7 separate regions of the Homo sapiens genome follow, and regions 1, 2, 3, 4, 5 and 7 are each linked to region 6. Evidence: promoter capture Hi-C in 16 types of primary human blood cells and fetal thymus (Javierre and others, 2016). All regions are on one chromosome and are shown on one strand. Each heading gives the region's core, a stretch centred on a gene start or on the middle of the fragment in contact. The rest is flanking DNA. Distances are from core to core; before and after follow the strand shown.

Evidence for each region. The method cuts DNA at HindIII sites, captures the fragments that hold promoters and counts their contacts. A CHiCAGO score of 5 or more calls a contact.
Region 1: a contact is called between a fragment that was not itself captured here and the fragment with the promoter of SCAF8 in region 6, in 1 of 17 cell types (neutrophils). The highest score is 7.3, in neutrophils.
Region 2: a contact is called between a fragment that was not itself captured here and the fragment with the promoter of SCAF8 in region 6, in 2 of 17 cell types (neutrophils and activated CD4 T cells). The highest score is 10.0, in neutrophils.
Region 3: a fragment that was not itself captured here is called in contact with the fragment with the promoter of SCAF8 in region 6 in 3 of 17 cell types (neutrophils, fetal thymus and naive CD8 T cells); the score reaches 15.0 in neutrophils.
Region 4: a fragment that was not itself captured here is called in contact with the fragment with the promoter of SCAF8 in region 6 in 6 of 17 cell types (naive CD8 T cells, fetal thymus, M1 macrophages and 3 more); the score reaches 7.3 in naive CD8 T cells.
Region 5: a fragment that was not itself captured here is called in contact with the fragment with the promoter of SCAF8 in region 6 in 2 of 17 cell types (neutrophils and naive CD8 T cells); the score reaches 6.5 in neutrophils.
Region 7: a contact is called between a fragment that was not itself captured here and the fragment with the promoter of SCAF8 in region 6, in 1 of 17 cell types (monocytes). The highest score is 5.9, in monocytes.

The regions. Positions count from the first base shown.
Region 1 is chr6:155,339,201-155,342,341 of GRCh38, forward strand. No RefSeq gene overlaps it. Among named protein-coding and RNA genes, the nearest start is that of TFB1M, 26 kb to the left of the region's middle. The HindIII fragment of the contact is 4,422 bases long and covers 1-3,141 here.
Region 2 is chr6:155,299,999-155,303,403 of GRCh38, forward strand. The region is part of intron 2 of TFB1M (transcription factor B1, mitochondrial); the gene reads right to left. Among named protein-coding and RNA genes, the nearest start is that of TFB1M, 13 kb to the right of the region's middle. The HindIII fragment of the contact is 4,922 bases long and covers 1-3,405 here.
Region 3 is chr6:155,319,146-155,322,555 of GRCh38, forward strand. No RefSeq gene overlaps it. Among named protein-coding and RNA genes, the nearest start is that of TFB1M, 6.4 kb to the left of the region's middle. The HindIII fragment of the contact is 7,367 bases long and covers 1-3,410 here.
Region 4 is chr6:154,157,643-154,160,808 of GRCh38, forward strand. IPCEF1 (interaction protein for cytohesin exchange factors 1) reads right to left here. Exons shown (of 12, transcript NM_001130700.2): 12 at 1-2,398. The coding sequence ends at 2,186. It also overlaps a transcript of OPRM1 not described here. Among named protein-coding and RNA genes, the nearest start is that of OPRM1, 120 kb to the left of the region's middle. The HindIII fragment of the contact is 1,290 bases long and covers 830-2,119 here.
Region 5 is chr6:155,278,419-155,281,980 of GRCh38, forward strand. All of the region lies in intron 5 of TFB1M (transcription factor B1, mitochondrial), which reads right to left. Among named protein-coding and RNA genes, the nearest start is that of CLDN20, 16 kb to the left of the region's middle. The HindIII fragment of the contact is 4,898 bases long and covers 1-3,562 here.
Region 6 is chr6:154,731,321-154,734,850 of GRCh38, forward strand. It overlaps SCAF8 (SR-related CTD associated factor 8), which reads left to right and starts at 2,096. Exons shown (of 20, transcript NM_014892.5): 1 at 2,096-2,610. The coding sequence starts at 2,581. RefSeq lists silencers at 1,729-1,968, 1,999-2,118, 2,269-2,868 and an enhancer at 2,129-2,632. The HindIII fragment of the contact is 14,602 bases long and covers 1-3,530 here.
Region 7 is chr6:154,139,994-154,143,118 of GRCh38, forward strand. It overlaps a transcript of OPRM1 not described here. Among named protein-coding and RNA genes, the nearest start is that of OPRM1, 100 kb to the left of the region's middle. The HindIII fragment of the contact is 2,432 bases long and covers 257-2,688 here.

The DNA of each region.
Region 1 (3,141 bases), core at 495-2,994, 610 kb after region 6:
GTGAATACTTAGGTGAGTCTCCTGAAGGCAGCAGATAGTTGGTTGGTGAGTTCTTATCCATTCTGCAGTTCTGTACCTTTTAAGTGGAGCTCTTAGGCCATTTACATTTAATGTTAGTATTGAAGGTACCATTGCATTCATCATGCTCTTTGTTGCTTGGGTACTTTGGTTTTTTGGTTTTTGTTTTTGCTTTTTAACTTGTATTTTTGTTTTATAGGTCCTGTGTGATTTATAGTTTAAAGAGGTTCTGTTTTGATGTGTTTCCAGGATTTGTTTCAAGATTTAGAGCTCCTTTTGGCAGTTCTTATAGTGGTTGGCTTGGTAATGGCAAATTCTCTCAGCATTTGTTTGTCTGAAAATGACTTTATCTTTCCTTCAGATATGATGCTTAGTTTTGCTTGGATACAAAATTCTTGGCTGATAATTGTTTTGTTTGAGGAGGCTGAAGATAGTCCCTTCTAGCTTATAGGGTTTCTGCTGAGAAATCTGCTGTTAATCTGATAGATTTTCCTTTATAGGCTACCTGGTGCTTCTGTCTCACAGCTCTTAAAATTCTTTCCTTTGTCTTAGCTTTGGATAACCTAATGACAATATGTCTAGGCAAAGATTTTTTTTTTTTTTTAAACAGTTTCACTTTTGTTGCCCAGGCTGGAGTGCAATGGTGCGATCTTGGTTCACCGCAACCTCCACCTCCCGGGTTCAAGTGATTCTTCTGCCTCAGCCTCCCAAGTGGTTGGGATTACAGGCATGTGCCACCACGCCCAGCTAATTTTATATTTTTAGTAGAGATGGGGTTTCTCCATGTTGGTCAGGCTGGTCTCAAACTCCCAATCTCAGGTGATCCACCCACCTCGGCCTCCAAAAGTGCTGGGATTACAAGCGTGAGCCCTCTGACTTTCAAATAGTCTGTCTTTGAGCTTACTATTTCTTTCTTCCAATTGACCAGTTCTGCTGTTGATGCTCTCTATTGCATTTTTTAATCTCATTAATTGTATTTTTTACCTCCAGGATTTGTTTGATTTTTAAAAAGTTATTTCAATCTCTCCCTTAAATTTCTCCGATAAATTTCTGAATTGATTCTCTGTGTTTTCTTGAAGTTTGTTGAGCTTCCTTAAAACAGCTATTTAAAATTCTTTGTCCAAGAGATTACACATTTCCATCACTTTCAGGGTCAGCTTCTGGCACCTTATTTTGTCTGTTTGGTGAGGTCATATTTCCTTGAACGTTCTTGATGCTTGTGACGTGTGACCATGTCTGAGCATTGAGGGATTAGGTATTCATTTTAGCCTTCACAAATTGGCCTTGTTTGTGCCTGTCCCTGTCAGAGGGCCTTCTAGGGATTTTAAGCAGACTGTCTTGGTTTTCCTGAGCCTGTGACCACTGTAGCTGTCTCAGCACTAGAGGACACTATAAGCTCAGGCTTACTCCAGGTCTTGTGAGGATTCCAAAGTTTGTGTGGCCTTCTGGCTCAGATGAGCCTGGTGAGGACCCAAGGAGGGTACTGGGGCTGAGTGGGAATACTGGCCAGTAAGTCCAGAAGACTGTCCTGATGGCTCAGATGGGTATGCCTCCCAGCAGGTCTCTGCACAGGTGATATAGGTCCCTGACTGCAGCTAGAGGGGCTGGATTTGAGACTGGGTCCCCTTGGGATCTGTTGTGAGAAGGAGACTGGCGGGCCTGTCTCATTGACTCAGGCATGCATCACACAGCAGGTCTTTGAAAAGCAACGTTCTTCCTTGTTACAACAGTATGGGCTGGAGCTGAGGCTGGGCCCCTTTGGGATCTGTTGTTAGCCACAAGTTCACTAAGTGCCCTGGTCATTGTGATTTGTACCATTAGCCTAATTCATCTGTTTTAGACTCCCAGGTCAACCCTACCCTTCTAGATTGACTTTGCTCCCCTTAGCCACAAATAACATCTTGCCTCATGGGGGAGGTACATCACCTATTAGCAGGAGCAAATAAGCTCTTAGAGATGGCCTGAGGAGCTTGCCTAAGCAAAAGCATGACTTTATGACATAGTATTTCTAGGATGACTGTATGTTCTGGTTTGCCTGTGACCATCTCAAGTTTATGTTTGTTGTCCAGGCATAATTATTAATAGTGCTCCAGTCATTGTCATTATTTGGATGAAATACGGTAACCCTACAATTTTCATCTGAGTAATGGGAATAAGATTGCCAACCCTTTTAAAAATTACACAGTAGTTCCTCCTTATCTGTGGTTTTGCTTTCTGTGGTTTCAGTTACTCATGGTCAACTGCAGTACAAAAACATTAAATGGAAAATTTCAGAAATAAACGAGTCATAAATTTTAAATCAAATGCTATTTTGAGAAGCACAATGAACTCTCATGCCATCCTGCTCTGTCCCACCCAGGTCCTTAATCATCCCTTTGTCCTGTGTATCCACCTGCCCATTACACTACCTACCTAGTTAGCCACTGACATCATGTGTTCCTGACATCCAACCATTGACATAGTCATGGCTTGATGATCCAGGATCACCCAAAGCAGACACTCTTCCTTCTGAAGGGTCATCAGAAAGTCAAATAGTTGCCTAATGCTGCATCACAATGCCTACTTCATTCACCTCATTTCATGTATCATGTAGGCATGTATCATCTCAAATTATCAGAAGAACAATGAGTACAGTGTAATAAGATATTTTGAGAGAGATAAAGAGAGCAAGCACATCCACATAACTTATTGTAGTATATTTTTGTAATTGTTCTATTTTATTATTTGATAATGTTAATCCCTTACTGTGCCTAATATATAAATTAAACTTTATTGTATGTATGTATGGAAAAAGTAGTATATATAGGATTTTATACTATTTATGGTTTCAGGCACGCACTGGGGCTCTGGAACATGTCCCCCATGGATAAGGGGAAACTACTATAATGCTATTTAGCAGATCAAATGAGATTATGTTTATGAAAATCTTTTAAAGGGATTTGAAGACAGCCTGCCCTGGCTGCATGAGGTGATGGCATTATTTGTTGTTGTTATTATCTGTTTTGGCTCATGCAGACGTATTAGTTCAAATTCCATTTTCTTGGTTATTGGATATTTTTTAGACTGTTGAGGTCAGGAAACAAGTTATCTTCAGCTTCGAGAGGTGTTATTATATATACGGTT
Region 2 (3,405 bases), core at 190-2,689, 570 kb after region 6:
CAGCAATGCATGGTGAGTGTTTAATACATATTTAAGAAGTGCATGAATAAGTGAATGACCAAATGGCATTCAGGTCTCTGTAAAGCTGGAAACTTTCTCTTTTAGCCTGGGAGATGTTGGCTTCCCAAATTTGTAGGGTCTAGAAACTTGCAAAGATTTACTTCACAAGTCAATCAGGCAGATTTATACAAATAATCTTCCAGAAATAAATAGCTGAAACGCCTCTATTGGTAAGAGGCTAAACATACTTTTAAGTCTGGAAATCATCTAGTTTGATATGTTTAGCCATGGTAGTTTAGCAAAAATAATTGCATGCCTCTGATACTAATGTACTTATAGATTATTTTAAATTACCACTAGTTAGTAAAACTTGATCTGGTGAGTTCCAGGCAATAAATCTTGGAAAATATAACGATTTCAATATACTAAAAATTTAAAAAGAGACAGCTCTCTATGCGGCATGCTCTTAATGTATAAAACCACATATTTAATCACAGTACTTATCATCAATGGAAAACGCTAAAATTTTTTCTATAATTATGTTCACAAAGTTAAAACAAATTAGCACGCCAAAAACAAAGAGGCAGAACTAATAGCTTAAGTCTCATGATGTCAATATATAGAAAGTATTTAATAATTAGTAGTTAGGACTAAAACACAACAGAACAATGTAAATTTGGCTGTTTGACGTTAACTTAATTTGAAGTGTTAACTTTTCCCACCCTGACAGGTACAACTGTATATCTAAAAGCTAATATAATATAAATAAATTTACCTTCCTTTCCTGGGTTTTCTTTTTTGTTTTTGTTTTTTGTTTGTTTTTTGAGATGGAGTCTCGCTCTGTTGCCCAGGCTGGAGTGCAGTGGTGCAATCTTGGCTCACTGCAACCTCTGCTCCTGGGATTCAGGCAATTCTCTTGCCTCAGCTTCCCTAAGAGCTGGGATTACAGGTGTGCACTACCACACCTGGCTAATTTTTGTATTTTTAGTAGAGACGAGGTTTCACCATGTTGCCCAGGCTGGTCTCTAACACCTGACCTCAAGTGATCTGCCCGCCTTGGCCTCCCAAAGTGCTGGGATTACAGGTGTGAGCCACCATACCCAGCTCCTTTCCTAGGTTTAAAACTACATTTCTTTTGGATTCCCATTCACTTTTCAATCTCAGTCAATGACAAACCAAATCCTCCCCACACTTTAAAAGGTACACCTCCTTCTTGACAATTTGTAGCTTGATCTACTTTGCAACTCCCCACTGCAGAAGGAATGAACGCTCATGTTAACAGATTTATGTGAAGTCCTTAAAGCAATTATGGGGAAACAGTGCTAGACAGACTAAATTGATATTATGATTATAGACAGTACCCTTTTAAACACTTCAAATGATATTAGGCAATAACACATGAAGACCTTCTAGCCAACCAGTAGCAGAAATGTTTTCACTACCATAATGATACATGGGGTATGGTGGAGGGGGTGGGAAAATCACTATTATATGCATTCGAGAATAACAATGGAGCATTACACTTCAAAACCCTGGAGGTGTTTTCACAGAATGTGCTTAAAGGCACAGCCAATCACAAATGCAGGCACCAGATTACAGCCAAATGAGTATTTTTACAGACACTCTCAAACTCTTCTTTCATTTTTATTTTAGTGTTCAATTCTATATTCTTCCAAAATGAGATGTATGCCAGTTTAGAGTAAAAGGCATCATTACATAAGGCTATAAAAGAAGAAACCGAAAATCAAACCATGAAGAGGGGAAGCATATATGTAAAACACAAGAGCTAACAATCCTAACAATCATGACAGCTAGCTCTCGTGATTTACATAATGAAATATATAATTTTTGCTTTTCAATAGTAGTTGTACCAAGACTCCAAGAGATAATTTTTTTTTCCCTGGTATTATGCTTTGTAAAGGGTACATGAAACAATGTAATAAACAATGCCTTTAATACAAGTTAAAACACAAATGTAGAAGCATTCTTTCTGTGGCCATTTAAAAAAAAATCTCTTCTCTAACCAAAGTCTTAGTGAAAGCTCCTCTGCAGGGGGCAAGTAATTGTGGTTTGGCTAGGCAGCTTTTTGTTGATTTTACTGGATGAGGAAAGAATTTAGGCAATTCTTAGAACTTACACAAAATTATCGATTCCTTAAGAAGAAATACTACATTGAATACCCATTTTGCATATTTTATGTCACCTTCTCATGTAAGGGGTTCATGGCAGCCAACACTGTAGTTACGTTAATTATCTTCTTCCTGATTTGCCACATAGTAGGGCCCAAATGCTGTTGAAATAAATATTTGTAACAGGGCTGGGCAAAACTGTTAAGCAAACTGTATGAGAAGGAAAGAATCTATAGTATAAAATATAGTAGGTGAAAGATAAAATTTGTATTCTTATATATAACACATATAAAAGACTACTGCTATTTATTCATTAAAAAATTAAGATGTTACAGCAGACTTTTCAGACTTTTAGAGGGAAGGTTACAGCATGATGTCAAAATGTCAATTAGCTTGCTTTATTTTTTTTTAGTATGTAAAATAACTTGAATTGTATTAAAAATGTACGTTTTCAGACTTTCTCAGTATTTTAAATTTATGAACAGAGCAAAAACAAACAGAAATCACATAACCACTCGTATCTTAAATGATACTACAAATATCTAAAATTATTTTTATAGGAATTTTAAGTTTGTTGGATATTTCAATGTCATTATCAAATCTTTCACTCTCTTTTTTAAATTTGACATTAGATTTGTATTAGTCCGTTCTCATGCTGCTAATAAAGACATACCTGAGACTGGGTAATTTATAAAGGAGAGATGTTTAATTGACTCACAGTTCAGCATGGCTGGGGAGGCCTCAGGAAACTTACAGTCATGGTGGAAGGGGAAGTAAACACGTCCTTCTTCATATGGTGGCAGCAAGGAAAAGTGCCAAGCAAAAGGGAGAAATGCCCCTTATAAAACCATCAGATCTCGTGAGAGCTCACTGATGAGATTTGAGTAGGGACATAGCCAAACCATATCAGATTTTATTCTATTTGTTTGTTTTATTTTTAATTGACACATAATAATTGTGTGTTCTTACCACAAATAAATGATAAATGTTCGAGGTGGATATGCTAATTATCCTAATTTTATCATTATACATTGTACACAACGTACAGGTATGCCAACGACACAACCTTCTTCCTTAGGCCAATGTATAGGGATGCTATATGGCACAATCCTCTTCCTTAGGCCAAGAACACTAAACCAAATTTCACCCTTTTCTTGATGACCTAGGGTTACTGTTGTCTTTAGAATAATGGCCTCAATAGTTACGAAGGTGTTTTTGCTACCCTATTATTATTATTGTTTCTTCTGCGTTTATATTTGTCTTTTATAGCTTTCTG
Region 3 (3,410 bases), core at 615-3,114, 590 kb after region 6:
GGCAGCTATACCATTACAAAATGTGTTTCTTACCTAATAAGACTTGAAAGTAAAAATTACTCTTTGATTCATGGGCTGCAGAATGGATGTTATGTTAGCAAGCATGAAAACAATATTAATCTCCTTGTGTATCTCCATCAGAGCTCTTGGGTGGCCAGGTGAGTTGTCAGTGAACAGTAGTATTTTAAAGAATCTAAAGAATCTTTTTTTTTTTTTCCTGAGCAGTAGGTCTCAACAATGACTTAAAATATTCAGTAACCATGCTATAAACAGATGTACAGTCATCCAGGTTTTGTTGTTTCATTTCTAGAGCACAAGTAGAGTAGATTTAGCATAATTCTTACTTGCCCTAGAATTTTTAATAAGATAAATAAGCATTGGTTTCAACTTAAAGTCAACAGCTTCATTAGCCCCTAATAAGTGTTAGCCTGTTGTTTGTGGCTTTGAAGTCAGGCATCAAATTGTCTTCTCTAGCTATGAAAGTCCTAAATGGCATGTTCTTCCAATATAAGGCTGTTTTGTCTACATTGAAAATCTATTATTTAATATCACCACATTCATCAATGATCTCTTCATCCCCTCAACACCTGTATCCCATACCGTCATCGATTCCCAAAATCCTATCTCCACAACAGATCTCACACTTGACCTCTCCAGTTCTGCTGCCAGCATCTTTCACTTTCATTCCTGCAACAGCTTTCAGTCTTGTTCTACAATACATTTATATTCAGCAGCAAAATGATCTTTAAAAGTGGAAATTGGATCACTTCACTTATCTGCATACAGCCCTTCGGGGGCCTCCCATTGCATTTAAAATAAAAATCTAATCGCTCGCTATGGACTAAAAAACCTATGTCCAACCTCATATATATCCACCTTCCTGGAGATAAGCTGTGGCCATGCTGGTCCTCTTTCAGTTCCTCAAACATGCCAAGTGCTTGCTTCCTCTCTTTTCTTGCATATGCAGTTTTTCTCTGCCTGGGATGATCACCTCCCACTCTTCAGCTGGCTATCGCCTTTTCTTTCTCTGTCTCAACTTCAAGGTGACCTCTTCAGCTAGAGCTTTTCTTGACAAATTCTAACAAGGGAAGAACCTAATTTGACCTTTGACAAGCTCTCCTTAAGAGTTTGCTCTTCTATTGCTTCCTTCAATTTTTTTATTATTATTTTTTTTTTACCATAGTCTTAAGTGTCACATCAACACATTTCCTCCAAAGGTTCCATCTTGGTAGAACAGGTTCAGGTTCAGAGTACAGAACTGCTCCTCTTTTTCTCTATCAATGTCTTTGCTAACTGACCTACCAAAAGGTGACAGTCAATGTCTAACAATCAGAAAAAATGCCAGAGGTCACAGAGCTGGAGTTAGATCTAGATCCTCAGGCCAAGCATTAACTCTTTGGTTGGTGGTTTATGAGGACTTCTAGGAAGTCTTAAGGGAGAATCCAGTGTGGCTCAGGCACCAGTGGTGGGTATTTTGGGGAGCCTGGGAGTATCTATTTTTGGCAGTTGTGGCTGTGTCCTAATTCAGTATTGTAACAAGTATAATATGGCCATTCTGGTACATTCAGACTAAGTATCAGTCAGTCCTGTTTCTACTCAAGGGTCTCACTACCTGTTCTGTGACTCTTCATCTCAGTCTTGTTTGCCCCCTTTGGTACAACTACCCTTTATTTTCGTTATTATTTTTGTTGCTTATTTGTTTTTCTGTATATATGTCTGTCTTCCCTACTAAAATGTAGGATCCATGAAAACAGGGCAGTATCTATTTGTTCACTAAAGTGAACCAATTGTTCACCTAGAAAAAATGCTGATACACAATGGATATTTAATACATATTTGCTAAATAAATGAATGAAAATGACTTCCTCTGATTAGTTAGGCTACATTTTATTTTCTATAAGAATATGCAACTCCAAAATTTATAGCTGTTTTCAAACTTTTAAAAGTCCTAGGTAGATCTTTTTGTAGACTGTCTTATATTTCTTCCCAAGAACCCCTAACATGAAGCCATCACAGTAGCCTTTCCAAGAAGTTTATGTTTCTAAGTCAGATCTCTTTCTCCACCTCATGCTCCTCTTTAGCTTAAAATTTTTCCTGGTTCCTTTTTTTCCACTTACAGGGAGAATGTTCAGATCTCTTACTATGCCACTCAAGGTCTGACACGATCTGGGTCTAAATTCCTTTCTAGTTGCATTTCTGTCACACCTTCCTTTATTTCCTTAGTATATCCTGAGACCTGCTACTCCAAAAGAATGCCTCTGCAACTTTATCCGCTTTGTGGGGCAAAATCCTATTCATTTTTCTGGGCCCAACACAAGTGTGACTCCTTGTGAGAAACTTTTTGATATTTATTGACCACCTTCTTGTCACGCTGTCCACTCTGGTCCTGATCCCTTCCACTCTGAGGTCCTGTTGTGCTGCATTCATAAACCCAGCAGAATCCATGTTGCATTTTGCAATATAGTAACTTGCATCATCATATACTGCATTGTAATATAATATAATTTCAGGGCCTCCTTTGTCAGACTCTCAGCTCTTCAAAGAAAACAGCGTATTTTATTCATCTTTGTGTATGCAGCACTAGCAGGGTGCCTGGCACACAAGGGGCACCAAGATATGTTTCCTGACCAGACCTAAACCATGGAGATTGTTGCCAGTTTTAGACACAAACTGTACAGCAAACTGTATTGAATAGAGCAGGGGTGCTGGAGTTAAGAAAACTTGGGTAAAAATCCAGGCTCCATCCTCCTTTTACTTATGTGACCTTGGGCAAGCTACCTAATCTTTTTGGAACTTAGTTTTTGTGGTAAGCAGAAAAATGGCCCCCAAAGATGTTCACATTCTAATCTCTGGAAAATGTGAATATGTGAGGTTACATGGCAAAAGGGAATTTAGGTTGCAGATGGAGTGTAGGTTGCCAGTCAGCTAACTTTAAGACAGGGAAATGATCCTGGATTATGCGGGTGAGCCCATTGCAATCACGAGTCCTTAAAAGTGGAAAAGAGAATTGGAAGAGAGAGCCAGAGAGATGACAGTGTGTGAAGGACTTGGCCTGATGTTGCTGGCTTTGCAGATGGAGGAAGAAGGTGGAAGAGGTTCAAGAGGCAAGAAGGTTGAGCATCCTCTGGAAGCTGGAAAAGGCAAAGAATTTGATTCTCCCCTAGAGCCTCCAGAAAGGAAGGCAGCCCTGCTGACATCTTGATTTGAGCTCAGTGAGAGCCATTTCAGACTTCTAAATGACTGAACTATAGGATAATACACTTGTGTTGTTTTGAGCCACTAAGTCTATGGTAATTTGTTACATCAGCGACAGAAAACCAATGTAGCTGCTTTGACTGTAACATGAGAATAGTAACAGATGCCTTATAGCATTACAAAATATGTATTATGTCTCATTATACTTCATAAGA
Region 4 (3,166 bases), core at 225-2,724, 570 kb before region 6:
TGGAGCTCTTCAATTTAAGAAAAACTGGAAGTCTACAGGCTGGTGTTGCAAACCAAAGAAAAATAGGTGGAAGGGCACTTTATGTCACACTGTTATTTCTGCTATTGTTATTTGTTGTTCCTTCAATACTCTTTACATTGCCAATCCTAAATAATTTCCCTTCTGGTATCTGCTAATCACAGAAAGAATCAGTAATTTCCAGGGGCAAAAGGTTAAAGCACTGCTTTCCTAAACCAGGGCATCAGGGTGCAATCTGAGGATCTGAATGTTCTCTCTGTCAGGTCACCACAGGTCAAACTCATCTTCAGTGGCTTCCCTAGGTGGAGAAGTACCCACATGTTTGCTGGGCCAAACTGACTGGCCTGGCCTCTTATCTTAGAGAAGTTTCTAGCAGTACAACTTGCTTCTTGTTTTTTGTTTTTATTTCTTAATGCTAAGGTTGTTTTTTGTTTGTTTGTTTGTTTACAGAGTATTAAGGCTTCTTAGTAAAGCTTGGGGAACTATTCAACAACTATTTCCATTTTGTTTGCAGATATAATTCAGGTGGTTCCTTCCATTTGAATGTCAAGCCACACTTTGAAGCTATAAAACAAAATAGGTTGTGTGAACAATTTGTTACGGGTAGGCAGGGCCAACATGGGTACTTGGTGGGTTGTGGTTATTCCTATGGTGAGAAATATTCATGGTGATTAGTAAGGGAAGACTTTCATATTGTTTCTCTATAGCTCTCTTTAACACAATGATTTCTAAATTTCTATTAGTCTTTAATGAAAAGATGACATTAGTTGTGTTGCCTTTGGTCTAAGGTTTGCAGGCATAAATGGCACAAAGCTTAAAGTTTATTTAATAGAAAGGATAATCTAAGATGAAAGTCCTTTGCTGGTTAAAAGAGTGACTTACAAGAGATAGAAATCTAAATTTAAGAGCTCATGGGGGTTGGGGTGGGGAAGAAAATGAAAAATTATGAATGCATGCCCCATTTTTTTCCCACAAGATTTCCTGAGCATTCCTCAGACACAGTGCAACATCATAACACCAGTGAATCAATAGTATTTCTATTTTTCTCAAGCAAAAAGTATAGACTCATCAAATATATACTAAGCACAATATATAATAGTATATCATCTTTTAAACACTAGTAATTTGAACTTCTATAAATATATTTAAATAACAAACATAGCTATTCACATAGCACACAAGTGACATATAAACATACAAAAATAAATCCCTCATGTTTAACTCTTTTGTTGCTTCCATGGGTTTTTGTTTTTTTGTTTTTTTGAGTAAAGATATTAAAACAATTCAGATGCCAAAGTCGTCTTGTCAATATTGATCCTGGGAAACCTGGATATAAATTCACACTATGTATAGGGATCACAGCCAAGGACAAGAGCAGTAGACATTCTTTGCGGAACATATTCCTATCTCCTACCATTGAGTAGGAAAGCTCAAAGGAAGTAGAGGTCTCCAATTGTGATGAGATGTTTTCTCTAGCTGTTGTAAGGAAAGGAAACATTAATCAGATCCCCTAACCTGCATAAAGTGTGAAAACACCAAGCTGTCCTTTGAATGAGTGGAATATGGAACACGCCTCCTCCTTCAGCTCTCCCACATGCCACTGTCTATGAAGCATTTCTCATCACATGGAAAAGGCACCACCATTCCATACCAAAGGCAAGGAATTTTTGTTCTGCAACACCACGTTTGTCCTTCCAGTCACTGCTCTAGAAAACATTCCTCCACTCAAACAGTGATTTGGGCCACACAGCTTCCCAGTCAAGTGGAATATGTACATTCTTCTTTTGAAAAACAGAATGTTTCCATGGGCAATTACTCCTGGTAAAATTTGATTCTTGTCCATAGCATTCTCTGGAGAGCAATGAACAGAAGAGACATTTCTCACATCCCCCCTAGAGCCCCACATCACCGTGAGCTCCCAGTAGGAACACAAAAAACGCCTTTCAACTGAACTCAATCATTCCAATCTCAATGGATGCGTTACGACTGAAATGAGGAGCCCTGGTGTATTCGGTGATTATCTTCATCTAACGTGCATCTTTAGATGGGAAGCTGATGCTTGAAGGACTGGGTTTCAGTTTTCCTTTTAAGGAAAAATGTAAGCTTTTGCAACATCTTGAAGAGTTGCTTGTGATAAAATATAAGAGGAGAAAACCCTGACTTTGTCTCAAATGGAATTTTCAACAGAGGGAGAAGAAGGTGATTTCTTGAGTTCCTGGGGGGTGTCATCAGTGTCATCAGGGGCAGGCGAAGCCCGCTGCTGCTGATAGATGTCCTGGATCAGCAGGGTGTTCATGACTTTCCACTCTCTGTATTTCCTGGCTGTCAGCTTCGGGTCATCCAGCAACTGGTTAATCATGGCCAGATCATGTTCTTTACACTGTGTGAGTAGAAAAAAAGGGGAAGGGGGTATGTTGAGAGTGTCTTAATTTACATAAACCATCTTTACCAACTCTTTTACAAGTACACATATACATAAAATTACCAAAGCATTTTTGCACGTTAATGTTCTAATTCCAGCATTAAGCTTAAGAAATACGACATTTGTTTGCATACGCTAGCCGCAAAGAAGTGAAGTATCCTACCCAAGAGTTAGTGGAAGAGCTAGACATATAGCAAAGATCTTCTATGTTGCCTTTCCCTGATCAATCCATTATTCCACACCACAGTAACAATTCTACCTTGGTGTGGGAATCATGCCTCCTAAAACTTACCATTGTAGGTATTAGCATTTTATTGACAATCCAAACTTCACTAAGTAAAATTGGAACGTAACACTTTACCTAGGACATATGGCAACATAAAATATGTCTTTTAAGATTTTATTAAATTATCTTTATTTTTAATAAATCACATTTATTTAATACAGAATAAATACACAGATTATCTTTTCAGTCAAAGAAGAGGCTACTAACCTTCCATCAAAACAGTATGTATTCCAATAATGCTAATAAACAACCTATTGGTGCTATTCCATTCTGCCTCCTCTGTAACCAATGGCACACATTTCTGAAATGTCTAGCTCAGGTTAGAGTTTTCTATAGACAAGGAATGGAGTATAAATAAGATGTTCATCCTCCATATTAAAAACAAATATTCAGCCCTGACAATTGTATCTCAAATCTATGCCTGTTTTCTCCATCCCATG
Region 5 (3,562 bases), core at 237-2,736, 550 kb after region 6:
TCATGAAATTATGAGTTTACATGATTGCATCTCCAACTAGACTGGGAGGTGTGGTGTCATTTTTAGCTCTGCATTCTCAGTGACATGTCATGGCAAGTGCTTCCTAACACATGCCAGTCCTGGTCTAAAACCTAACACATGCCAGTCCTGGCTTAAACCTAACAACTCTACCAGGTAGGCACTATTCTCAGGATCTTACAGGACACTGAGGGCGACAGAGGTGACATAAGTTCCCTAACTTGCCCAAGTTCACACAGCTAGTAAGTGGGGAGATGGTTCCAACCTGAGGGAACCAGGTTCTGGAGTCAAACTACCCGGGTGCAAGCCCTGGTGTGGGTGCATGGTTACACAGCATGCATTACTTAACTAAGGTCTTGGTTTGCTTAAGAATGGCATCTACCCTCAGAGTTCTCGTGGGGATTAAATGAGATGATACACAGAAAGCAGTTGGTGCACAGAAAGCATATGACTAGTGTTACTCAATGGTTCTTAGTCTAATCCAGTGGCTCTCCCTGGGGTGAGTTTAGCCTGCAGGGGACATTCGGCAATGCTGGGACACTTTTTTGGTTATCTTAACTGAGGTAGTGCTACTGGAATCTAGTAGGAAGAGGCCAGGGATGCCTTTATGTATCTTACAATGCACAGGACAGACTCTGGCAACAAAGAATTATCTGGCCCCAAATGTCAACAGTTCTGAGTTTGAGAAATCATAGTCTAATTTATCGAATATACTTATTCATTCTTCTTTGATAAAAAGTTACCAAAACAAAACCCAAAAGACCAAAAATATCATACTTTTTTTTTTTTTAACCTGTGGAGCACGTGTATATCTATACATATGACTGAAGAATTCATCTAGTAATTCTGACAAAAATGATAGACTTAAATTAAGTCAGAAGAATTGGGTACAAAATTGGGATGGGTTTGGGAGAAATTTAGGTAATGTCAGAAGCTGGTTAACGACTGACTAGTTCTGAGGGTCAGCAGTTGTAAAGGTCTGGGGAGGTGGTGCTTAAGATGACCTCCAAGGTTTAGGCTTGGATGACCTGGGTGGATGATGCCATTAGTCAGCATAGTGAATAAGAGGTGCAGGGAGGGCAGGCCCACTAGGGTAGTTAGACAGAAGTTCAGTTTTGGATGTGGACAATGTTTTCTCATATGTCTTTCATCACTATATTGTCAGCTACATGACTTTAGCAAATACTAACTTACTTGACTTTTGAGATTTTTAGCCTAGCCTATAATTCTGCAGAACACTATCACATTATTATCATTATCTCCAGTTACTTTTGTATTAATTTCATTGCATTTTATACATACATAAAAGTACTGTCTGCAAAAATGCAATTTTGTTTTTTCCCTCCTTGGATTTAGAATACTTACCATTTATTCTTGAGCAGTTTATGGAAGCATGCCTAGTACTGAATTAAAATTGTAATAGCAAATACTCTTATCTCTATTCAACACGTATTTTACCTGATTTTTAAGGAGGATGACTCTGGTACTACTTTAATTATAAAAATGGCTTTTGGTTTATATTTATTTTTATTTTGGACTCAAGGGCTTTAAAAAAGAATTTGAGGCAACTTATAAAATTGCAGGTATAATAAGTATAAAAACAACTGATAAAGATGAAAGACTAAAGTTACAAACAAAAAGAAGAGAGAAAAAATGCTATTAAATGTTCCTGGTTGAAGCATGCTAAAGCAATTAAACATGAAACTTAGTTTAGAACTTCCAAGCAACTGCGGCAGAGAGGTGGCCATGTAAGTAATCTGACAGCTTTGTCTACTGGTAGGAAGCTAGACAGGATGCTGTGTCTTGGCCAAGCTCCTTCCACTGGGCCAGGGCAGCCACCCCCAGCTGCTGGCACTGATGGGTGCTAATGGCTCCCAGAGATGGAGCTGCCTCTACTGGGAAGTGACTGCCCCACTGCTCCCTGCAAAGACTGGCTGGCACAGGTTCCAATAAGCTGGTCCCTTGCCTCAAGGGAACACAGACGCGTGGGGCAATTTGTGCTACACAGCTTCTCCTCCCGCCGTGGTTCTAGGCTGAAGCTCCTCCAGGAGGAACAATATGTTTACTTAGCTCTTCCCCTGCCCTTTCCTGCTACCCTCATGCCCCTTCTCCTGAGGGCCCTTGTCAATACATCACCTTTATGAAAATCCCATCTCAATCTGATTCTAGGAGGAGAATACAAACCAAAGACAGAAGAGTCTTAGTTAAGTAGGAAAACACTAGTGTTCTGACCTCATACCAAAATGATTCTTGAATACAAGGTAAATATACAGCAGAAATAACATCCTCAATGTCAGATTTCAAAAAACACAAAAGCATGAAAAACAGTTGTCTCTTCTGTGGACCCATCCACCCACCAAACTCAAGACTATCTCCCACAGAGGTCAAGGCCTCAATAGCTGTGAACAAGCAGGGTTGGAAGCCTCTAAAACGCTCTTCAAAAGTCAAGAGTGGATGTCTCAAGTTCCAATCTTTTCTTTATATGTCATGGATATATCATTAATTCATCTACAATTTAATGGACACTATTTATGCTTTAAATGTGTACCATGTTTGAAGGTAACTTGTTCTATATACCACACTTCCAAATAGGAAAAATTAAATATAAATTCTATATATAGCTTAAAAATTATAATCCTTATTTTTATATCAGAATACTACAACTTAGTCCATAAATATTTGTTTATATCATAACAATAACAACTACTTTGACTGGCAGCATTCACTGCCAGATACTCATATTAGGCACTCTGCATTGATTATTTCTATTCCTCACAAATGTCCTTCAAGGGTGGTATTATTGGTCAAATCTGGATGTAGTAAACTCAGCCTATTAACCCGACCAAGCTCTCAAAACTAGCAGTACTGGAATTCCAGCAGGTCTAGCTTACTTGGAAGTCTACTGCCTCTACCAGTGTCAATTAAAAAGAACCCGTTACAACTCTCATAATATAACTAAATGATTTTTCTACTAAGTCAGAGTAGAGAATAGTGTTGAGAACTGGCTGGGCGTGGTGGCTCATGCCTGTAATCCCAGCACTTTGGGAGGCCGAGGCGGATGGATCACCTGAGGCCAGGAGTTCGAGACCAGCTTGGCCAACATGGTGAAACCTCGTCTCTACTAAAAATACAAAACTTAGCGGGGCATGATGGCGGGCGCCTGTAATCCCAGCTACTCGGAAGGCTGAGGCAGGAGAATCATTTGAACCCAGAAGGTGGAGGTTGCAGTGAGCCGAGATTGTGCCACTGCACTCCAGCCTGGGCGGCAGAGTGAGACTCTGTCTCAAAAAAAAAAAAAAAAAAAAAAAAATAGTGTTGAGAACTAAAAAGCCTTTCCACTCTTTACGAACTATGTTAGATTATGAAGCCTATCACCATAATTCATAAAAAAAAAGACAGAATTTTGAGGATCTAGCTAATAGCTCAGTATTTCCCAAACTTGAGAAATGTGCAGAGTAGCTGAAAAAAAAGATTAAGCGTGGAACCCCAGAAATATGTGGATTCTCAGGGATCTACAGAGGCTAATAGAGAAAAGCTAGCTTGA
Region 6 (3,530 bases), core at 846-3,345:
TTTCATGTATGACCTAATAAATAATCCCTCACAGGCCAAAGCAGCGCCTTTTTTTTCCGTTCTTTTCTTTTTTGTTTCTCTTTTTGAGACAGAGCTTCACTCTTGTTGCCCCGGCTGGAGTGCAGTCACGCGATCTCGGCACGCTGCAACCTCCGCCTCCCGGGTTCAAGCGAATCTCCTGCCTCGGCCTCCCGAGTAGCTGGGACTACAAGGGCGTGCCACCACGCCTGGCTACTTTTTTTGTATTTTTAGTACAGACGGGATTTCACCATGTTGGCCAGGCTGGTCTCGAACTCCTAACCTCAGGTGATCCACCCGCCTCGGTCTCCCAAAGTGCTCGGATTACAGGCGAGAGCCACCACACCCGGCCTCAAAGCAGTGACTTCTGATTGTGAGAACCTGGCATGCACAGAACTGAGTGCAGTACTTTCTCAAGCCACAGTAAATGCTCCTTTAGATGGAGTGATTAGGGGACCTCTTTCAGGAAGATTGAAGGAGGAGGAGTCAGCTATGGAAAGGACAAGAGCAACAGCACCCTGTGTGAAGAGACACAATTGTCCTACCTATGAAAACACTGCTTCTTGTCAAGTAACAGAAAGGCCAGTGTGGCAGGAGGAGAGTCAGGGAGCAAGGGAAGGTGGTGTGAGCTGCGGCAGGCTGGGCTGGGCCTTCAGGCCATGGTGAGAAGTTATGATGGTATCAAATGGGCAATGAGAAAGTATTTAAGGGATTTAAGTAAGGGAGTGACCTGATCTGATTTATCTAAGAAAAACATCCCTCGGCTACTGTCTGGAAATGAACTGTAGGAAGACAAGCAAGGGACCAGTTAGGAGGCTACTGCAAGTGTCAGTAAAAGATCATGGCTAGGCCTGAAGATGGGAGACGGTGGAGAAATCTGTGACAGAATTTGAGATTTTGAAAGTAAATATAAAAGCACTTGGTGAGTTATCCCTGTTACCTTCTCAGTAGCCAGGCCCTATACTAAAGCTGCCAATGAAGTAGAATGAAGGCTCTGAAACCTCAAGAAGGGCCTTACTTTCCCAGTTTCACGGGGCTCTGCGCACAGCTCTTAGGAACTACCTTGATTCCAAAACTCTCCAAAAGTACGATCCTGCCCTTATGTTCCTCTCTCCCTTTGAGTGAATTTGGGAATGATTGTTGAAAAATGACTTTCAACAAGAGGACAGCAGTGTTCGGGGTTCCACGATACATCCCTATCTTTTAACATCGATAAGTATTTTTAAATTGGTACCTTATTTTGCGCTGCACGAGAGAGAAGGCTTTTTACTAGCAGCATCTCCTAATCCATCTAAGAAATACTGTATTTACCTTTACTCCAAGTATCCTAGGGCAAAATTCCTTTAGAACAATTCATCTTCCGAAACAGACGGGTTCCCTTTTCACCTATTCAAGTGTTGTGCATTCTAGGGTCCCCTTCCCGCCTTGCAGACAAATGCGCTCATTGTGCCACTCCAGTCCCTGGATCCTATGCAGCGGGCATTTCCTGCAAGGAGCTGCTGCATGCCTGTTTCCCTCGCCGCCTGCCCCAACCCGAATCCAAGGCTTTGGTTTCTAATGTTCCCTCCCTGTGCAGTTAAAACAATTGAGTTCAGTTACTAAATAGATGACCAGGAACTTTTTCTTGGCGAAGGCTGCGGATGTTTAGGGCACTGTCCAGTAAAGTTGTGAAAAGCAACTAAACCCTGCCGCTTGTGCAAAAGGACCAATCCACCGGGAAACAAGGGAAACGCGCACATTTCCTCAACTTGCCGCTTCTTGGGCACGTTTAGGCTCTTATTAGAGCCGCGCTTTGGAGTTGCCTCCTCCTGCTGTACAAACCCGCCGCGGCGTTCCCCCGGATGCCGCAGCGCTCACTCCCGCGTCCGCGGGGCGCGGGGAGGGGGCGAGGCGCGGGCGGCCCCGGAGCCAAGGCGAGGGCAGCGGAGCCCAGCCGGGCCTACGGGCGGCGACGCTCTGGCCCCAGCGCGCTCGATGGTTTCCGCGCGGCCGCCGGGGCTCGCACGGTCCAGTCGCCAGGGGGCGCGCTAGCCGGCGCCGCGGATCCCCGAACTGCGCGGCCCGACTCGAGTCCGCCATATTGGATGCCGCAGCCGCTGCTGCCAGCGCTTCCTCCTCTGTCTTCGCCGAGCGGGGCTGGTTCCTGCGGCCCGAGCGGCGGGGAGGTGAAACAGGAGCCCGTCGGAGGAAGGGGCAGAAGGGAGTGGAGAGTGTAGGGGAAGGGGCTAGAGGGAGGGGGACCGAAACGGAGCGGGGCAGAGAAGAGAAGGCGCCGCGGCCCAGCCCCTCCCCCGCCCGCCGCCGACCCGCCCCGGCAGCGCCTCTGTTCCCTAGAACGGCGCTCCCCCCGCCCTAGCGGCCATGCCGGTGCCGCTCTGCCGCTGAGGGAGCCCTTCCCCGCCAGCGCGTGCCCTTCCACTCCGCCCCGAGGTCGCAGCGGCCCGCTCTCCCGCCAGCGCCCCCTCCTCGCGGCCACGCAGCAGCCCGCGTCTCGCTCTCCCCACCCAGTGCAGTGGCCGCCGCCTCTTCCGCCGCCGGGCTCGGGGCCTCCGCAGCGACAACATGGAGGCCGTGAAGACCTTCAATAGCGAGGTTGGTATGGCAGCCGGGTTCCCCTGCTCCTGCCCGCACCGCCCCCACCCCTGGTCGAGGCCGGGGCCCGGAGGGTGGGCGCGGGCCTGCGGGTTTTTTAAGGGTGGGGTGAGCGGTGGCCTAGCAGTGCCCGTGGGGGAGGGGTGTTTCTCCTCTGGGTGCCCCTCCCCCGGGTCCGGGAGGAGGGTTGGGGGAGGGCCGCCCTGGGGCGGAGGGAGGTTCTGGCGTCTCCGGCGTCCTATGGAATGGCTGCGAGCTCGGAGGGAAAGACCCGGTTGGGCCCTCACCCGGAGACTCCCGACAGGTCCCTCGAGGTCAGTTCCGCCGAGGCCTGGCCCGCCCACCTCCTTCCTGGGCCTTTGAGGATTTAAGTGGACGCTGGACATGACTCTCCAGACCTTCCCGGGTCCTCACTGAGGCTAACACCGATTGGGGGCGGTGGGGGAAATGAACCTACGGGGTGTTGATCTGTGGTCACGTTACACGTAGTGTTTATAATTGAGGCATTGTTGACTAGGTAATTTGCCAGCTAGGGACTTGAGCTAATTGGATGGTTGGTAGGCAGGCAAAGGTTATTCTGCAATATCTTTTATTTTTACTCGCTCCTCTTCTAATCCATCACGACATAAAGACAAATGGTAGGGAGAGATCTGTGCATCGAGAGATGGAAGATTATGGGGGAAACATTTCTCGCTGGTTCATTCACGTGTCAAACAAGATTTTAAAAAGCAGATTCCATTTTCACTGTGTAGTTGAATTTACTAGTCTGGAAGAAGACAGGTTTTGATGTATTCAATTTCTTTTTAAACTCCGACTTCAATAGGCCTTAATGTAAACATCAAACATAGCAAGTACACATCTGCACAGTCAGCATTAGTATCCCTACCCGTACGCCTTGGAAAGTGTAATTATGGCCGGGA
Region 7 (3,125 bases), core at 223-2,722, 590 kb before region 6:
GAAGCAACCATCCCATCTCCAGTTCCCCGCCCTCTTGAGAAAACCAGAACGGAGGGCCTGAAACATTGATATGCAAGTCACTCTCAAGCTATGACTCAGTTTTCTTCTCAAAGCAATTAACAATTACCAGCATTTATTCAGTGAATGGGAGTCAGGCAAACAGACAGACACTGACAGTCTGTCATTATCGCAACAAAAGAACCACAGCTTTTATCCTCCCCAGAGGAAGTAAGACTTTAGAACTCTTCAACTTTCAAGCTTACATACTTCCCTGACCTATGGTTTATTTCATCATCAGCCTTAAAAATAATAGAAAGTTTAGCCGTTTATGTTATTTTATTTTTTTTTTTTTTTTGAGAAAGAGTCTCGCTCTGTCACCCAGGCTGGAGTGCAGTGGCACGATCTCAGATCACTGCAACCTCCATCTCCCAGGTTCAAGCGATTCTCCTGCCTCAGCCTCCTGAGTAGGTGGCATTACAGGCGTGTGCCACCACACCAGCTAATTTTTGTATTTTTAGTTGAGACAGGGTTTCGCCATGTTGGCCAGGCTGGTCTCAAATTCCTGACTTCAGGTGATCCGCCCGCCTCAACCTCCCAAAGTGCTGGGATTACAGGTGTGAGCAGCCCCGCCTGGCCTTATTTTTGAGGCACTACTTGGAGATGGACCTCCCAAGAATCATATGCAGCTCCAGATAGGGCAAAAGGAGGCCATTATGAATCATAGATATACAGGTCAACCCACAGAGGGCACCCTGCCTACACTCCCTACCCTATTGACGGCCTGGCAGGAGAAGGCACCCTTTCTGCAAACTTCCTGCAGACTGCATCCTATTGGCCACTTCCTAACTACTCAGATGCTGTTTTTAATGTGATCAAGTCCATTCAAGAGTTGGTTGTCACATGTCCATTTGAGGCCAGCACTAGATGCTGTAGAAGCCAGACTGAATGAATGACTCACGTATGGCCCCAGCTCTTCAGTACTAGACTTACAGTTTGATCAGAGCCTCAGTCATGGAGCCAAGGCAAAACCAGAATGTTCACTCCTTGGTGGTCTCATGGTTAAGATTTGTCACTCTCAAACTAGAATCAGATCCACCCCTGACTGTTATTGGATGCAATACATTTAGCTATTCTGAGCCTAGGTTTAGTTTTCTCATTCATCAGAAAGATAAAACCTACCTCACATAAAAGAGATAATGGACACAAAGCACCTTCCCTGATGCTCAGTACATGGGCAGCGCGTGTTAATGTTATAAATCACCCGCTTATCCCAGTCTTTACCAGCTGGTGAGTATAAATATTCTAACGGTTAGCTTACCCCTAAGTCTCAGTGCTCTATCCCCTAGGTCTGTCATGCCAAAACTCCAGTCTTTTCCATTAATTTTCTCCCAAATTATTTCCTCTTGGAGGCCTTGATGGGGGTGGGGCTGGTGGTATTCGCAGCAGCCCTGTGGTCTGAAGTCGGCAGAGCTCTGTGTGAAGCCCGAAAATTTGAGACAGGTCTCAGTTAATGTATCAAGTTTATCTTGCAGAGGTTGAGGATGTGCAGCTGTGACACAGCCTCAGGAGGTCCTGACGACATGTGCCCAAGGTGGTCAGAGCACAGTTTGGTTTTATACATTTTTGGGAGACGTGAGACATCAATCAACATATGTAAGATGAACATTGGTTCAGTCCAGAAGGGCAGGACAACGCGAAGCGGGCAAAGGGCTTCCAGGCCACAGCTAGGTGAAAGACAAGCTGTTGCATTCTTTTGAGTTTCCGATTGGTCTTTCCAAAGGAGGCCATCAGATATGCATTTATCTCAGTGAGTAAAAGGATGACTGAATACACTGGGAGGCAGGTTTGCCCTAAGCAGTTCCCGGCTTGAATTTTCCTTTTACCTTAGTGATTTCAAGGCCCAAGATATTTTCCTTTCACATCTCCCAATCCACAAGCCTCAGTTCCTGCCTTACATTCTGCCTCTCATGACCAAGTTTTACACAAGTGGTTGCTAGTAGATCTGTGGTACTGGTATCATCTTTGATTTCTCCTCTCCAGAGTGCTCAAGCATTTGAAAGTTGGAAAAGATGCAAATAGCCCAACTCTCACGCTCTGGACCTGTAATCTGTCCCCTCCAACCTCTGGCCGTCTCTGCTGGGCTTGTGTTACAGTGGGTAGCTCATCAGGCATGAGCAGGGCAGGACAGGACTCCCCACCCCACCCCTCCAGGAAAGTCAGGTGATGGTCAAGCAGTTGTCACACTGCCCCTCTAAAATAACAATAGGTCGCAGCCAGCGCCAGGGAGAGGCAGTCTCTCCATAGATAATAACACCTGAAATTGGTCATCAGCAGCTTCCAATAAGATCTCAGGAACTGGGTGACTGGGCTCGACCATGCACATTAAGAGGCAAAATGGGTAGTATGACCTTCTGGGGACATTCCACCAGAAAAGGCGAGAACACCTCAGGCGAGCATGTGTACAACTCCAGTAAACACACTGTGTACTCTTGTCGCCCTGGGATTATAGGCCACTGAGCATGCAGGCGGCTCTCCCTGAAGGAAGAATCCAAGGAAAGGGGCACTAGACTCCAGTAGTCGACCAGAATATAAAATCCTAGATCCAAGGTCAAACGGGGCACTTGTCCTTCAAGTCACCCACCTGGGCCTCTTCCAAGTGTACTTTCCTTTCTTTCATTCCTGCTCTAAAGCTTTTTAAGAAACCCTTACTCCTGCTCTGAAACTTGCCTCAGTCTCTTTTTCTGACTTATGCCCCTCAGTCGAATTCTTTCTACTGAGAAGGCAAGAATTGAGGTAGACTTGCACGGATTCCCCTCCACTAGCTCGGATACCTTCCACTGCTCACACTTGGCCTTTTAGCCTTGCAGTCCATGGTTTCTGCCACTCTTCTCATTCTCTAATGCAGCCTCATCTGAGGTTCCCCCAATTCCATCAAATAACTGAGACCTATCTGAACCCCAAGGGAGGACCAGTTCTTCCTTACAATTCTTCCAGGTTCCATACCAATCAGAGAGTATTTTGAACTCCCTGAACATTCTCTGCCTGGAGTAGAGGAATTCCAGCCAGACTAATAGAGTCTCATTTCTAATATATATATAAAAAAAGGTCACTAACATAGACATACA